Regions from separate parts of the Homo sapiens genome. Here all the other regions are linked to region 1. Evidence: promoter capture Hi-C in 16 types of primary human blood cells and fetal thymus (Javierre and others, 2016). All regions are on one chromosome and are shown on one strand. The core of a region is centred on a gene start or on the middle of the fragment in contact, and the rest is flanking DNA. Distances in the headings are between cores, read along the strand shown.

The links. Contacts are between HindIII fragments. The CHiCAGO score rates a contact against its expected background, and 5 or more counts as called.
Region 2: a contact is called between a fragment that was not itself captured here and the fragment with the promoter of FOXRED2 in region 1, in 1 of 17 cell types (activated CD4 T cells). The highest score is 6.2, in activated CD4 T cells.
Region 3: a contact is called between a fragment that was not itself captured here and the fragment with the promoter of FOXRED2 in region 1, in 2 of 17 cell types (non-activated CD4 T cells and naive CD8 T cells). The highest score is 5.6, in non-activated CD4 T cells.

Annotation. Positions count from the first base shown.
Region 1 is chr22:36,505,381-36,509,455 of GRCh38, forward strand. FOXRED2 (FAD dependent oxidoreductase domain containing 2) reads right to left here and starts at 1,660. Exons shown (of 9, transcript NM_001102371.2): 1 at 1,629-1,660; 2 at 516-1,043. The coding sequence starts at 1,042. RefSeq lists a silencer at 1,407-1,906. The HindIII fragment of the contact is 16,870 bases long and covers 1-4,075 here.
Region 2 is chr22:36,140,181-36,144,255 of GRCh38, forward strand. APOL3 (apolipoprotein L3) reads right to left here. Exons shown (of 4, transcript NM_145639.2): 4 at 149-1,878. The coding sequence ends at 1,020. Among named protein-coding and RNA genes, the nearest start is that of APOL3, 19 kb to the right of the region's middle. RefSeq lists enhancers at 773-1,274, 1,275-1,774. The HindIII fragment of the contact is 156 bases long and covers 1,840-1,995 here.
Region 3 is chr22:36,247,248-36,251,322 of GRCh38, forward strand. No RefSeq gene overlaps it. Among named protein-coding and RNA genes, the nearest start is that of APOL1, 3.8 kb to the right of the region's middle. The HindIII fragment of the contact is 1,506 bases long and covers 1,462-2,967 here.

The DNA of each region.
Region 1 (4,075 bases), core at 410-2,909:
CCATTGGTGAGGATCGCCATCCAGGGGAGGGCAGCTGGGGACTTGGATCCTGCCGGCTTGCAGAAGAATGCTTTGATCACAGAGTGGTTTCAAAAATAGAATTGAAGGCCGGGTGCGGTGGCTCATACCTGTAATCCCAGCATTTGGGGAGGCTGAGGTGGGTGGATCTCCTGAGGTCAGGAGTTCGAGACCAGCCTGGCCAACGTCGTGAAATCTCATCTCCACCAAAAATATAAAAAAATTAGCCGGGTGTGGTGGTGCTTGCCTGTAATCCCAGCTACTGGGGAGGCTGAGGCAGGAGAATCGCTTGAACTAGAGAGGCGGAGGTTGCAGTGAGCTGACCTCGTGCCATTGCACTCCAGCCTGGGCGACAGAGTGAGACTCCGTCTTAAAAAAAAAAAAAAGCGAAATACCCTTTTTCGTCCATTCCTCCCATACCTACTGGCCAATCAAGGTGTGTGGTTCGTGTGGGGAAGGTCCCAGCTTCCGCAGGTGAGCTCTGGCACCGGCCTTACCTGCACTGATGCACCTGGCCCTTCTGGTCAGTTAGGATGAAGTAGTGGCCATTCCAGGCCTGTCGGTCCTTGTCCAGAGTGACGTGGGCGATGGTGGTGTTGTACTGGACACGGAGCCCCAGCGTGTCCGCGAAGTCACCCAGGTAGCGCACCATGTCGCGGGCGTCGGGGAAGTAGGCACGCGAGTAGTGTCTGAAGAGCAGCCGGGGGTCGTGGCTGAGCAGAGAGTTCCAGTCGTGGCGGAGGTTGAACTCGGCGTTAGCCTTGCCCGTGTACCGCTTGTTGATGCTGATGAGCTTGCGGTGCCGCGGGTAGCGTGTGAAGAAGCTGCCGGGCCGCGGGGCCCGCTCGAACACTGCGTAGTCGCGTCCAGCGCGCTGCAGGAAGTAGGCCATCTGCAGGCCCGCGGGCCCAGCGCCCAGCACGCAGTAGTCCCGGCGCGGGGGCACCGACAGCGCTGGGTGCAGGGCGATGGCCAGGAGCAGCCCCGGGGGACCCCACAACGGGGCCGCAGCGGAGAGGCCCATCCTGCAGCAGATCAGAGGGGTAAGGCCTCGCACCCGGCCCGGCGGCTGGGAGACACGAGGCCCAGAAAGAGGCGGGGCCTGCGGGAACTCTCACTGCAATCTGGGTCACGGCCAGGCCCAGAAGCCGTCCTCAGAGCTCATTTGCCCGGACTCCACCGTTTCAAGCTGGGACTTGGGGCTCCCCGGAATCCCGAGCCCCTCCATCTTATCTCCCTCAGGGTCTCCTTCCTCAGGGGCACCGGCTCCCCGCTTATGATTGTAGTAACCTCCACCCTGGGGAAGGAGAGCGTACTCCCCAATTTTCCCCTAATTTGAGGGTGCCCAACACCCCTTTGAACCACCCTCCAGGTTGGACCTTCCAGAGGCCTTGGCCCCTCTCCAGCGACCGGGTGGGAGCCTGAAGTGGGTGTGGCCTGCGTGCGCCCCGCCCCCTGCCAGGGTCCGCGCGCCCCAGGCTCTTCGGCCACGTGACAGGGATGCCGCGCACACCTGCCGCCCGCCCGCGTGCGCTTCAGGAGCCGCCAGGTCCCTACGCCCGCAGCTCCGGCCTCCCCGCCTCCGACCGAACCCTGAGAAACGCGCGAACCTCCCAGCCGCTCCGGCTGCAACCCGTGGTCTAATGAGGCCGCGCTTGGCTCGCTTGCTCCGCGGCGGCTCCGCCCCTCGCGCCCGGACCAATGGCAGGGGGCGGGGTCACGTGCGCGGCGCGCGGCACGCCGGGACCAGCTGGCAGGCTGCCTGCTCCGGCCCAGCGCGGGAGAGGCGCGCGCGTGCTGCGTTCGCTGCTCCGGGGGCTGGTAGAGGGGCCTGGGGCTAGCGCGCACCCGCGAGGGTGGAAGGTCTGGAGATCCGGGATGGGGAACTGGGTCCTTCGTTTTAAAAGGTGCCTCTCTACACGGAGGGAGGGGAGCACGTGATTTTTGGAGCTAATCCTAGCTCTCATATTCCATGAATGTAGCCAAACGCTAAAACTAGTTGGCCTACCCAGTTTTGTGGGACTGGAAACCAGCGTGGTGGAGCCAGGACCGATAAGCCAATTAACAAGCGTTTGCTACAGTGACTCAGTGTACTGCTTACCAAGTAACATACACGACTGTCCTAATCTTCCACCAAATAGGAGAGGTGGGCAAGGCATTGTTTCCGACATTTGGTAGCTGACTGGTCAAATGGAGACATAGGGATGAAGGGATATGTTTACAATCACAGGAAGTGGAGCCTGGAATTAAAACTCAGTGGAGGCAAGATAAATGGCAGGAGGAAGATAACGTGAACTGGATGATGAAGGTTGGCTTCCCAGGGGTGGCAAGTGGCCCCTGCATGAGATTTACATGGGGAGAAATACGAAGTCAGTGTAGGAACCTTCAAAGTCCAGTGAAATGGGGCTGAGTGTTCTTGGGGGAAGGGCAGGTGGAAAGAACTGCGAGCCTGCAGATTTGCATGGCTGGAGATTCTTTGAATTAAAAATCGTAGCTGGGGACTCCTTAGAAAAATTTTCCTGACCTCTCAGGCCTACAAGTACCTACCAAAGAATGTCATTTACTTTTTCTTTTTTTTTTTTTTTTGAGATGGAGTCTCACTCTGTCGCCCAGGCTGGAGTGCAGTGGCGTGATCTCGGCTCACTGCAAGCTCCACCTCCCAGGTTCACGCCATTTTTCTGCCCCAGCCTCCCTAGTAGCTGGGACTACAGGTGCCCGCCACCACACCCGGCTAATTTTTTGTATTTTTAGTAGAGACAGGGTTTCACTGTGTTAGCCAGGATGGTCTCGATCTCCTGACCTCGTGATCCGCCCGCCTCGGCCTCCCAAAGTGCTGGGATTACAGGCGTGAGCCACCGCGCCTGGCCGAATGTCATTTACTTTCTTCAGTCTGTGTCAACATCAGAGAAAAGCTCCCTCAGAGCAGAAATTGTCCAGTATCTGACATACGGAAGTTTAAGCATTTGTTGAATAAGCATTGCAACCAGAGAGGTCAGGCAGAATACTTTGCCAAAAATAAAGTAGGGATGTCTTATTTCTTCTTTTTGAGACAGAGTCTCACTGTCACCCAGGCTGGAGTGCAGTGACACAATCATGGCTCACTGCAGCCCTGACCTTCCAGGCTCAAGCGATCCTGCTTCAGCCTCCCAAAGTGCTAGGGATTACAAGTGTGTGCCATGGCCCCTGGCCAATTTTTCAAAAAAATTTTTGGGGGCATATGTGTATATATTTATGGGGCATATGAGATGTTTTGATAGTCATGCAATTTGGGGATGTCTGTTTCTTAGTGGTTGTGAAGATTATGAGAATGGGTGCTGGCAAACAAGTTCCTAAAATAATTGCTGGTCTTATGTGGTGAATACAGTAGTGGGAAATTAAACAGAATTCGTCAAGTATGGTAGGGCCCTACGAGTAGGCTGAACCTAGATTGTAAGCAACAGGATGCTACTGGGAGTTTCTGAATGTAGGATTACTGCAGCAGTCAACTTGGTAGCCCCATGCAGGACAGATAAAAGCAGTGGACAGCTACTCGGGAGGCTGAGGCAGGAGAATGGCGTGAACCCAGGAGGCGGAGCTTACAGTGCCTGAGATTGCGCCACTGCACTCCAGCCTGGGCAACAGAGCAAGACTCCGTCTCAAAAAAAAAAAAAAAAAAAAAAAAGGCAGTGGAAACTGATGCAAAGTATTTTCAGGGAATGAGCTTGAGTCACTTCCACTTGCTTCTGTTAATCCTGTTGGACAGGGCCATGGTTTGCAAGAGGCAATTTGGTGAATACTGGTCCAACCTGGAAACCCCCGGCACTAGTCACACCACTTTAATCTGTTTTTTAACACTCTGTATTCACATTGAAAACTCCCCAAGTACACTTTTTCTCTCCACTGCTTCTAACACAGTTCAAGAAACCTTTTGCTTGCTGAGGTTCGATTCATTAAAATTAATTTTGTGTTTTTTCAAGCTACTTTAAAAAAAAAACCTGTAACTTTAGAAATGCTGAGCTTTTTTTGAGAGTCTCTGTAATCCAAATTGGAGTGCAGTGGTGTGATCTCAGTTCACTGC
Region 2 (4,075 bases), core at 668-3,167, 360 kb before region 1:
AGGGCTGACATTTGTCAAGTCCTCCTGCTGTCTGCTGACATCATCACCATCACCTTTACCACTGTTCAGACAAAAACTTCAGACAGGAACTTGCTCCCAAAGCGAGAAAGGAGCCAGGAGACCAAGGAATGACTCGAATAAGTCCAGCTTGGTGAGTAGGTGAGTTTATTAGGACTTACACACAGGGCACTCAGCAGGATGGCTCTAGAGATCCGGCCTCCCCCAGTCTCTAAACTGCTTTTCAGTTAATTTTCTGTCTCTTTGCCTGCTGTATATGAGTAATGAGACTGTTTTTCTTGGTAGGTTCTCGCATACTCTCCAGGATGTTTGGGTTTTTAGAGACACCTGGTCCTCAGCTGGGGACAATGGCCATGGCTCATTACCTGGCCTTCAGGGTTCAAGCAGGGGACATATACCCCTAAATAACCTAAAGGGGATCCATCACACTACAACCACCACCTCCACCGCCATCATCAAGAAGCCACTGGCTGACTGAGATACACTTCCAGGAGGACAAGACAGAGTGGATGCTGGAAAGACAGGGCAGGGGACCATCACCAGGGAAAGACTTCATTCTTGGAAGGACATCGAACCGGGGGCAGGTCGGTAGTGGAGCCGCTGTTTCTTCTGCTGTATCCAAAAGTTCTAACTCTTCGGCTTTCTGCATTTTCAGCTCTTTCTTTTCCTGGCCTTCTCATTGCTGGTTCCTGCACACCTCCCCTCTATTCCTCCCCCCAATATATTCGTTAGTCTAAAGGAAATTTCTTCTTCCTATTCCCCACACTCTCCAGTCCCCTCTCCTCCCTTATTCCAGGCTCCAGCATTCCTGCCTTCTCCTTGGTGCACTTGCCATCTGCATTAACCCCTCCCCTGCTGTGCTCAGCTACAGAAATGCCAAAGTCACTAACACTCAGCTCCATAAACTTTACCTTGCCCTCTTTATCCCCCTAATAAAATGCCTGCATTTTGTCGTGGCCTGTGTATGGCTCACCTCCCCTGCTGGCTGCACTGGTCTGGGGTCAGTGGGTATGGCATGGATTCAGACGCTGATAGATCTGAGTGAGCTCCATTAGATTCTCCTCCAGCTCCTGAGCCTGCCGCCTCAGCTCCTCAGCAGATGCAGACTTTGCCCCCTCATGCAAGTGCTTTGACTCGTATACAAGGTTGACCACATCCAGTGCAAGGAAGATGCCTGAAGTGGTCGCACTCAGGATCCGGGCTCCTCTGCTCACTGCCCGGGTGGTGCCTGCAATCGTTCTCTCTGCTTGACCACCACTTCCAGCTGAGATTCGCCAGGTGGTCACAGGGAGTCGGGCCCTGGCTCTGGCTTGCCTGATGGCACGGATTTCACTCCCAATGGTTTGTGTGGCTTCGTAATAATTATTAAGAAGGGAAAGTAAGTTGGGTGTGATGTCACGCATAACTTCCTTAAATACCTTCAATCGGTCAATGCTGGTTGCAGTCAGCCTGCTGGCTTCAGCTTCTGCTGATGATGTGTATGAGTGCTCCACGATGCTGGTGGTGATCCCAGTCACAGCAGACGCTGCTCCCAGCCCTACCCCAGCTGCAGTAAGGGCCAGACTCGTCCCTGCTGTAAATGGTGCCAAAACAAGACCAGCAAGGGACATGATGCCAGAGGCAGCGCCAGTGGAGCTGGACACCACATTGGAGATGGTGCAGCCTCTGTGGACCTCTTCAATACCATTTGCAAGGGCACGAAGCTTTTCTATGGACTCCTGGATCTTCCTCTTGACTTGGGGAAACTCTTTCAAAAACCATTCCCTAAACTGCTCATCTTTCTGCTGCACATATTCGTCCTCAATAGCTGCATATGTTCTAAGCTTCTTCAGAGCTTCGTAGAGAGCATCTGCCTCATCCCTGTACCAATAAAGGACAGATGATTAAGAAAGGCAGCTTACTTATCTGTAAAATCAGCTCAATAAGATCTGTTCTACATAAATCACAGAGCTATTACTATGAGTCAAATGGAAATAAAGCTTTAAATTTTAAATGGAAAAATTTAAAATAATTTTTCCAAGGTTAAACATGTTTTGTATATCATAGATATGCCACAGTACTTATTCTGTATGGGAATAAAAAACTTAAAGTCATCTTCAGATGCTCTTTAGTGGTAGGTATTCGATAAAGATGGCTCCTCAAGCAAGAGAGGTCAACATCATCCCTCCAATAGTGTGTGGAGAGGGGAAATTTTGTAGATGAACAAAGAGAAGTGGGTTCGGAGCAAAAAGACCTTCATTCAGAGGATCATAGAACAGTGAAGGATTAACTTTATTAGAAGAGAGGTCGTTCTTTTGTCTTTGGGCCCTGGGAAGGGATCTCTGGGGCCCTGGAATGTCCTGCCTGGTAGGAACATCTTTGTTTCCCTGGTGGTTTGGCTACAGCACAGTATAGCAATGTTATGGGTGATGGGTTTTGGGGCTATTACGTATCTTTTCTGCCTTCCAAAGGAACTGGGAACTAAGGGTGTTAGACCTCAGGGAGGGGCTGGGGACTCCATGTCAGCCATCAGGACAGCTTGTGATCCAGCCCCAGAAAGAGCTCTGTACATTGAGGCATAGGTTGAGAAAGACTTTCTCCTTGGCCAAACTCCAGTCAGGCTGCTCTGAGCCTTTTCTCCTCTAGGCGCTGACCTTCCATGCCCATCCCGTGCTTGCTGGGCCTGTACTGCCCCAGTTCAGCAAGAATCCCCCAAGGCAGTTAGGGAGGGTCCTCCCCACTTGCTGTCTGAGCATTCTTGCTGTCTGATCACGGTCTTCACCCGCTCCTTACCTGCCTTTAGTTGAGCAGCTTGTTAGGCCAGTTTAGCAGAAACCCCCCATTCTGGTGTCTCCAGTCAGAACTGGTCCATCTCCCACTCCTCACCCTGGTGTTGGCTGTGACTCCCCCTCTGTCTTTACTATATTGGGAGCTGGGCTCAGTCTCCCTCCCCTGTAACACAATCCTGAATAAAGGCTTCCTGATCTAATGTGATTCACAGGAATTTTTCCTTAACTGGGTGAGCTTCTCTGGTTGGCAACACCCCATGTGTTTTGTCCCACATTCACACAGGAGAACACAGCGTCCTGAGGACAACGAAGCTTCACACCTGAAACCCTCCCAGACTCTGCCCTGTGTGTCTCTTCCTTAGGCTGATTTTAATCTGTGTTCTTTCCCTGTGATAAACCACAATCGTGCAATAACAGTTATCAGTGAGTTACGTAAGTCTTTGTAGTGAATTATCAAACCTGAGTGGGGGCTTAAGAAACACCTTCAAATCTGCAACTGGTGTCAGAAGGAAGGGTGCCTTCAGACATTGCATTTTGACTAACTCTGAGTCCTTAAGCTATCAAATAAAACCTCAGACTGGAAGAGATCACCTTGCCTGGCATGTTCTCTCTTCCAATGCCACATGCCCTTTGATCTTCTGACTGAAGGCCACTGGGTCCAGCCACTGCCCCCTTTGACTGAAAAGTGAAAGGCCTGGCTATTAGTCCTGGCTGCACATGAACTCTCAAGCCACTTGACGGCCTCCTGACCTGGCACCTCCAAGCTTCAGGGTCTCACTGTCACATGTCACCAGCCAAACTAATGCCTTAGCAGGTGACAGCTTCACCTGTGTGCATGCCAATGCCATGTGCAATTTCATGGAACCTCTTATGGACTCATGAGACTTTGAAAATCATCTCTATAAATCACTAATGCTGAAAAGACCTGCATTTGGACAAGATGATAGAGAAAGTGTTTTTCTCTTTGGTTGGGGACTTGTGAGTCTCCTGAGAACCCTTCAAATTACCCAGTTGGCAGACACTTGTTCCAACTCTCCAAGCTGGCCCGAAGAAACACTTCCTCTACTCTATGTAGAACAGAAGAGGGTCCCAAATGGCAGTTCAGAATGCCCCAGTTCCCAGGCATGCTGTCAGGGAAACAGTCACCCATGGCCCACTATGCCCATCAGTGATGGGATCAAATCAGGGAGGGAAGAAATATCCCTCTCCCACTCACTGGTCCTCTGCAAGTCCATGGCCACGTTACCTTTCATGCCCTCAGTGCCTCCCTCTTCTCACCCTACTCCCAG
Region 3 (4,075 bases), core at 965-3,464, 260 kb before region 1:
GGCATTCCAGGGGCCTGGAGATCACTTCGCAGGGGTAGGGGACAATGGGAAGACCTCTCCTGGGATAAAGTTAATTCTTCACTGCGCAATTGTAGTGCAGTGAAGATTCTATTCCCAGAGGCCGGGGAAGGTTTGCAATTGCTTTGGTGCAGTGGGGCATGGGTAAACTTGCACCTTAGCTATAACAGCAGACAGAACAACCATAGTACAAATACAGGTAGTCAGTTGTGCAACTGTGTATTGGTAGACACAATGACAGCACATCACCGGCTAACCCCACAATATGGGGTGACTACCTGTACAACAATGTCACCAAGCCCTTGGGTTAAGCAATGATACATGGCTGGGTTGGTAGAATAAGTCTCTGCATATGGGTGCCTACCAATCCCCATGGAGATGGAGATGGCTGTGGGCCTGTGTCACCCACCCTTGGCCTTATTTGCCATTCAACTGGACTGGCAGATGCATCTCAGGGCATCCTTAATTGCCACAGTATATAGTTCCCCATTTAGACACGACCCCCAGTAACTGGAAAACGGTAAAAGCTAGAGATTACCAGATATGTGCATACTGGTGGTTCTACCCCTTGGCCATCTTTGCCTCCAAAGTGGCAACTGTAAATGCAGAGCTGCAATTCGTGTGCTGGCTAAACACACAGCTGCAGCCTTCAATGATACTCACCATCGTTTTACACTTCCCAATCAAGAAACCACCCAGATCAGGCATGTTCCTCTGCAAAATCGTATGACCCAAAATCATACAACTGCTGCCCATGGTGGAGCTTGTGCATTAATTAAAACAAAATGTTGTGTATATAGCCCTCATTACTCTCATAACATAACACAGGCTCTGCTGACGTTAGATACCCAGAGTCCAGCCACAGAGTCTTTGTCTTATGATCTTATCACCTCATGGTTTAATCAACTCCCAGACACGTGGAGAAACTTTGTATCTAGCGTAATTGCAATTGCGTTCATAATCCTTTGTTGAGGTTAGTGTTGCTGCTGGGGTGTCTGGCTGCAATGCTCTTCCACAAAACTGGCCCCAGGAAAATCACAGAAAAACAGTGTGATGAGATTGTGAGGGCCATTCAAGGCTATGCAGGGGTGTGGAGAGCATGGTGGGCATGTCCCGTCAGACAGCAATAACTGAAGCATCCCCTAAGAATAACCCTACATTCCTTGGTGAATTTTTGCTCAGTGTTCCAAGGTATGGATCCCGGGAATGGCCAATCCAGATGTTTACATCATACTTATGAAGAACTCTGTTCCTTGGATCAGAGGTTGTGCAAGGAATCAAGACCTTTTGTTTTGGGCTAGGTGGAGGTTTCCTGGCAGAGGTGCTAAGTGGAGGTTGCTCTGGGAAGAATATCATATAACCTGCATGCATTTGACAAACAGGAGGGGATTTCTTGTCTTGCCTGCTGCTCCTGGGCAACCTGTACATAAGCTCCCTGAATAAAGCTTATGTCTCACCTGCTGTCTCCAGGTCTTTTCTTCTGTCTCTCCAAGTCTGTGTCCTGTCAGCTCATTAGCATAGGGGTCCAGCATGACAAATATAAAACGGTGTTTAACATTCTTTGGATTATGTTTATATAAATGTGTTATTAATATGTGTTCCAAAATTGTACGAGATTCTATAGGTCTAATATGTCTTGGCATATGTTATCAGAAACTATTATTATTATTATGTTAAGTAGTTGTTTGCCACAGAAATAAAGTAATTTCCTTGTCGAATGTGTCTTTACCAATGCTGTTCTCATACTTTTGTTATCTGCAAAAAGTGTTTACTTTACATCTCAAAAAACAGTTTATGATCAGCTACAGATTGTGCCATCGGACTAAGAAAAAAATAAATCTTCCAGGACTGTAATTCAAAAGTTGATGTGGTCATGAAGATTGCTAACCCAATATCAAGTGGAAGAAGGTTATTACATGGGAATGAATTAATGGAGAACAAAAATAAATTTTTAATGACTTTTTGTTTAATATACGACTGATTCTTTTGTTTTGTTTTTCTTAGTCAAGAAAACTTCTTTTTCCCTTTGGGCTCCATGTAGCTTTTAACAATTGAATAAAGTATACTCTTGTGAGCAAAATTTGAAGCATATTTCTTTCTCACTATCTGATTTCTCCAGAATTTGGAAACTATTTGTGAGTATTCTTAGTTCATGGCAATAGAGTTATTTGCATAAGTTCAGTTGGAATCTGTTTTCTTTCATAACAGGACACAACTAGAGACACTGGTTATTTTACCAAGGCTTTGACTGGCATGGCATATTTCCACATGTACGTAGGCTGCTTTGAGTAATGGTGGCTGGCTTATAGAGCCGATGAAAGCCTCTTTGAAAAATTTTCCTCAAACTTTGCCTATACAGTTCCTTTACAGGGTTCCTGTCCTGTGGTAAGTAAAGAATGTCACTTTCTGACAGGCCCAGGAAGCCCAAGTTACCTTGGGACCTTGAGGAGAAAGGAACTCACCTAATATATATAGGCATCTGCAGGCAAATATAAATCACTGGCTGAGCTTGAGATTTTAAAAGGCCTACTCTGAGATATCTTATGAAAAAGAAAATATTGTAGCAAAGTCAATTTCCAAAAGGAGCCCATATGCCAAATAAGTATTCTTGCTGCACTTTATACAAATGATCAGGCCAAGAACCATCAGACTAAAACTTCTGTTGCAAATAAATTAGCCCTACTATGATTTGTCTTTGGTAGAAATACAGGACTAGAGAGAGAAAAGGTATGTTTCAAAAGAAACTAGAGAATGCCTGTTATTGGATTCTAGCTTTCTCCATTGTTTTCTAGCCGTATTGTTTGTCCACAGTTTATCTGGACTACATACTGAATTCTTTCCTGGCCACAAGTCTCCAAACTAATATTTTGCTTTTCTTTTTCTCTCATTTTTCTGACTTGGAATCACCAGAAATCCAAACTGTGCTTTTCTTAAAGTCCTGCAAACTGAAGCTTGAAAACTGTGTTATAGTGAAGGAAGAGAAAGACCCTCTCATATTATTTTTATATTGTTTTGTACTCAGTACCTGTTTTAAGAAAAAACAACAAGGAAGTAAAACCAAAGACAGGCAGCCCGGCGCCAGGCCCGAAACCAGGCCTGGGCCCGCCTGGCCTAAACCCATTAGTTAAAAATCAACTTATGATTCAGAAGCCGATGTTATTCATAGATTCCTTACATTATGTAGAAGAACATTGTGAAACTCCCTGCCCTGTTCTGTTCCCCCCTGACGACCTGTGTATGCAGCCCCTGTCACGTACCGCCTGCTTGCTCAAATCAATCATGACCCTTTCGTGTGAAATCTTTAGTGTTGTGAGCCCTTAAAAGGGACAGAAATTGTGCACTCAGGGAGCTCGGATTTTAAGGCAGTAGCTTGCCGATGCTCCCAGCTGAATAAAGCCCTTCCTTCTACTACTCGGTGTCTGAGAGGTTTTGTCTGCAGCTCGTCCTGCTACAATAGAATTCAGACCAAACTCGTGACCAGAGACTCATTTGCTTCTACAGTGTTTTGTCCAAAAGATGTTGAAGAACGGCCAGGCGCAGTGGCTCACGCCTGTAATCCCAGCGCTTTCGGAGGCCGAGGCAGGCAGATCACAACGCCAAGAGATCGAGACCATGCTGGCCAAGATGGTGAAACGCTGTCTGTACTAAAAATACAAAAATTAGCTGGGCTTGGTGGTGCGTGCCTGTAGTCCCAGCTACTTGGGAGGCTGAGGCAGGAGAATCACTTGAACCCGGGAGGTGGAGGTTGCAGTGAGCCGAGATCACAACACTGCACTCCAGCCTGGCAACAGAGCAAGAATCTGTCAAAAAAAAAAAAAAAAAAAAAGTTGTTGAAGAACAAGGAGAAAACGTGAAAGGAAAATCAAATCTTGGGACCCCAAAACTCACTGGAAACAGTTAAGCTTAGAAACGGAGTCACTCCAAAACCTGCCTTTGTTTTTGCTTCTAAGCAGATATTTGCGAAGACAAAAGGCAACATGTTCCCCAGGTAGCCTCCTTCACAAATTGCTCACAAGGAAACTCCTTGTGGGTCCCAGCAGTTTTTACCCTGAGGCAG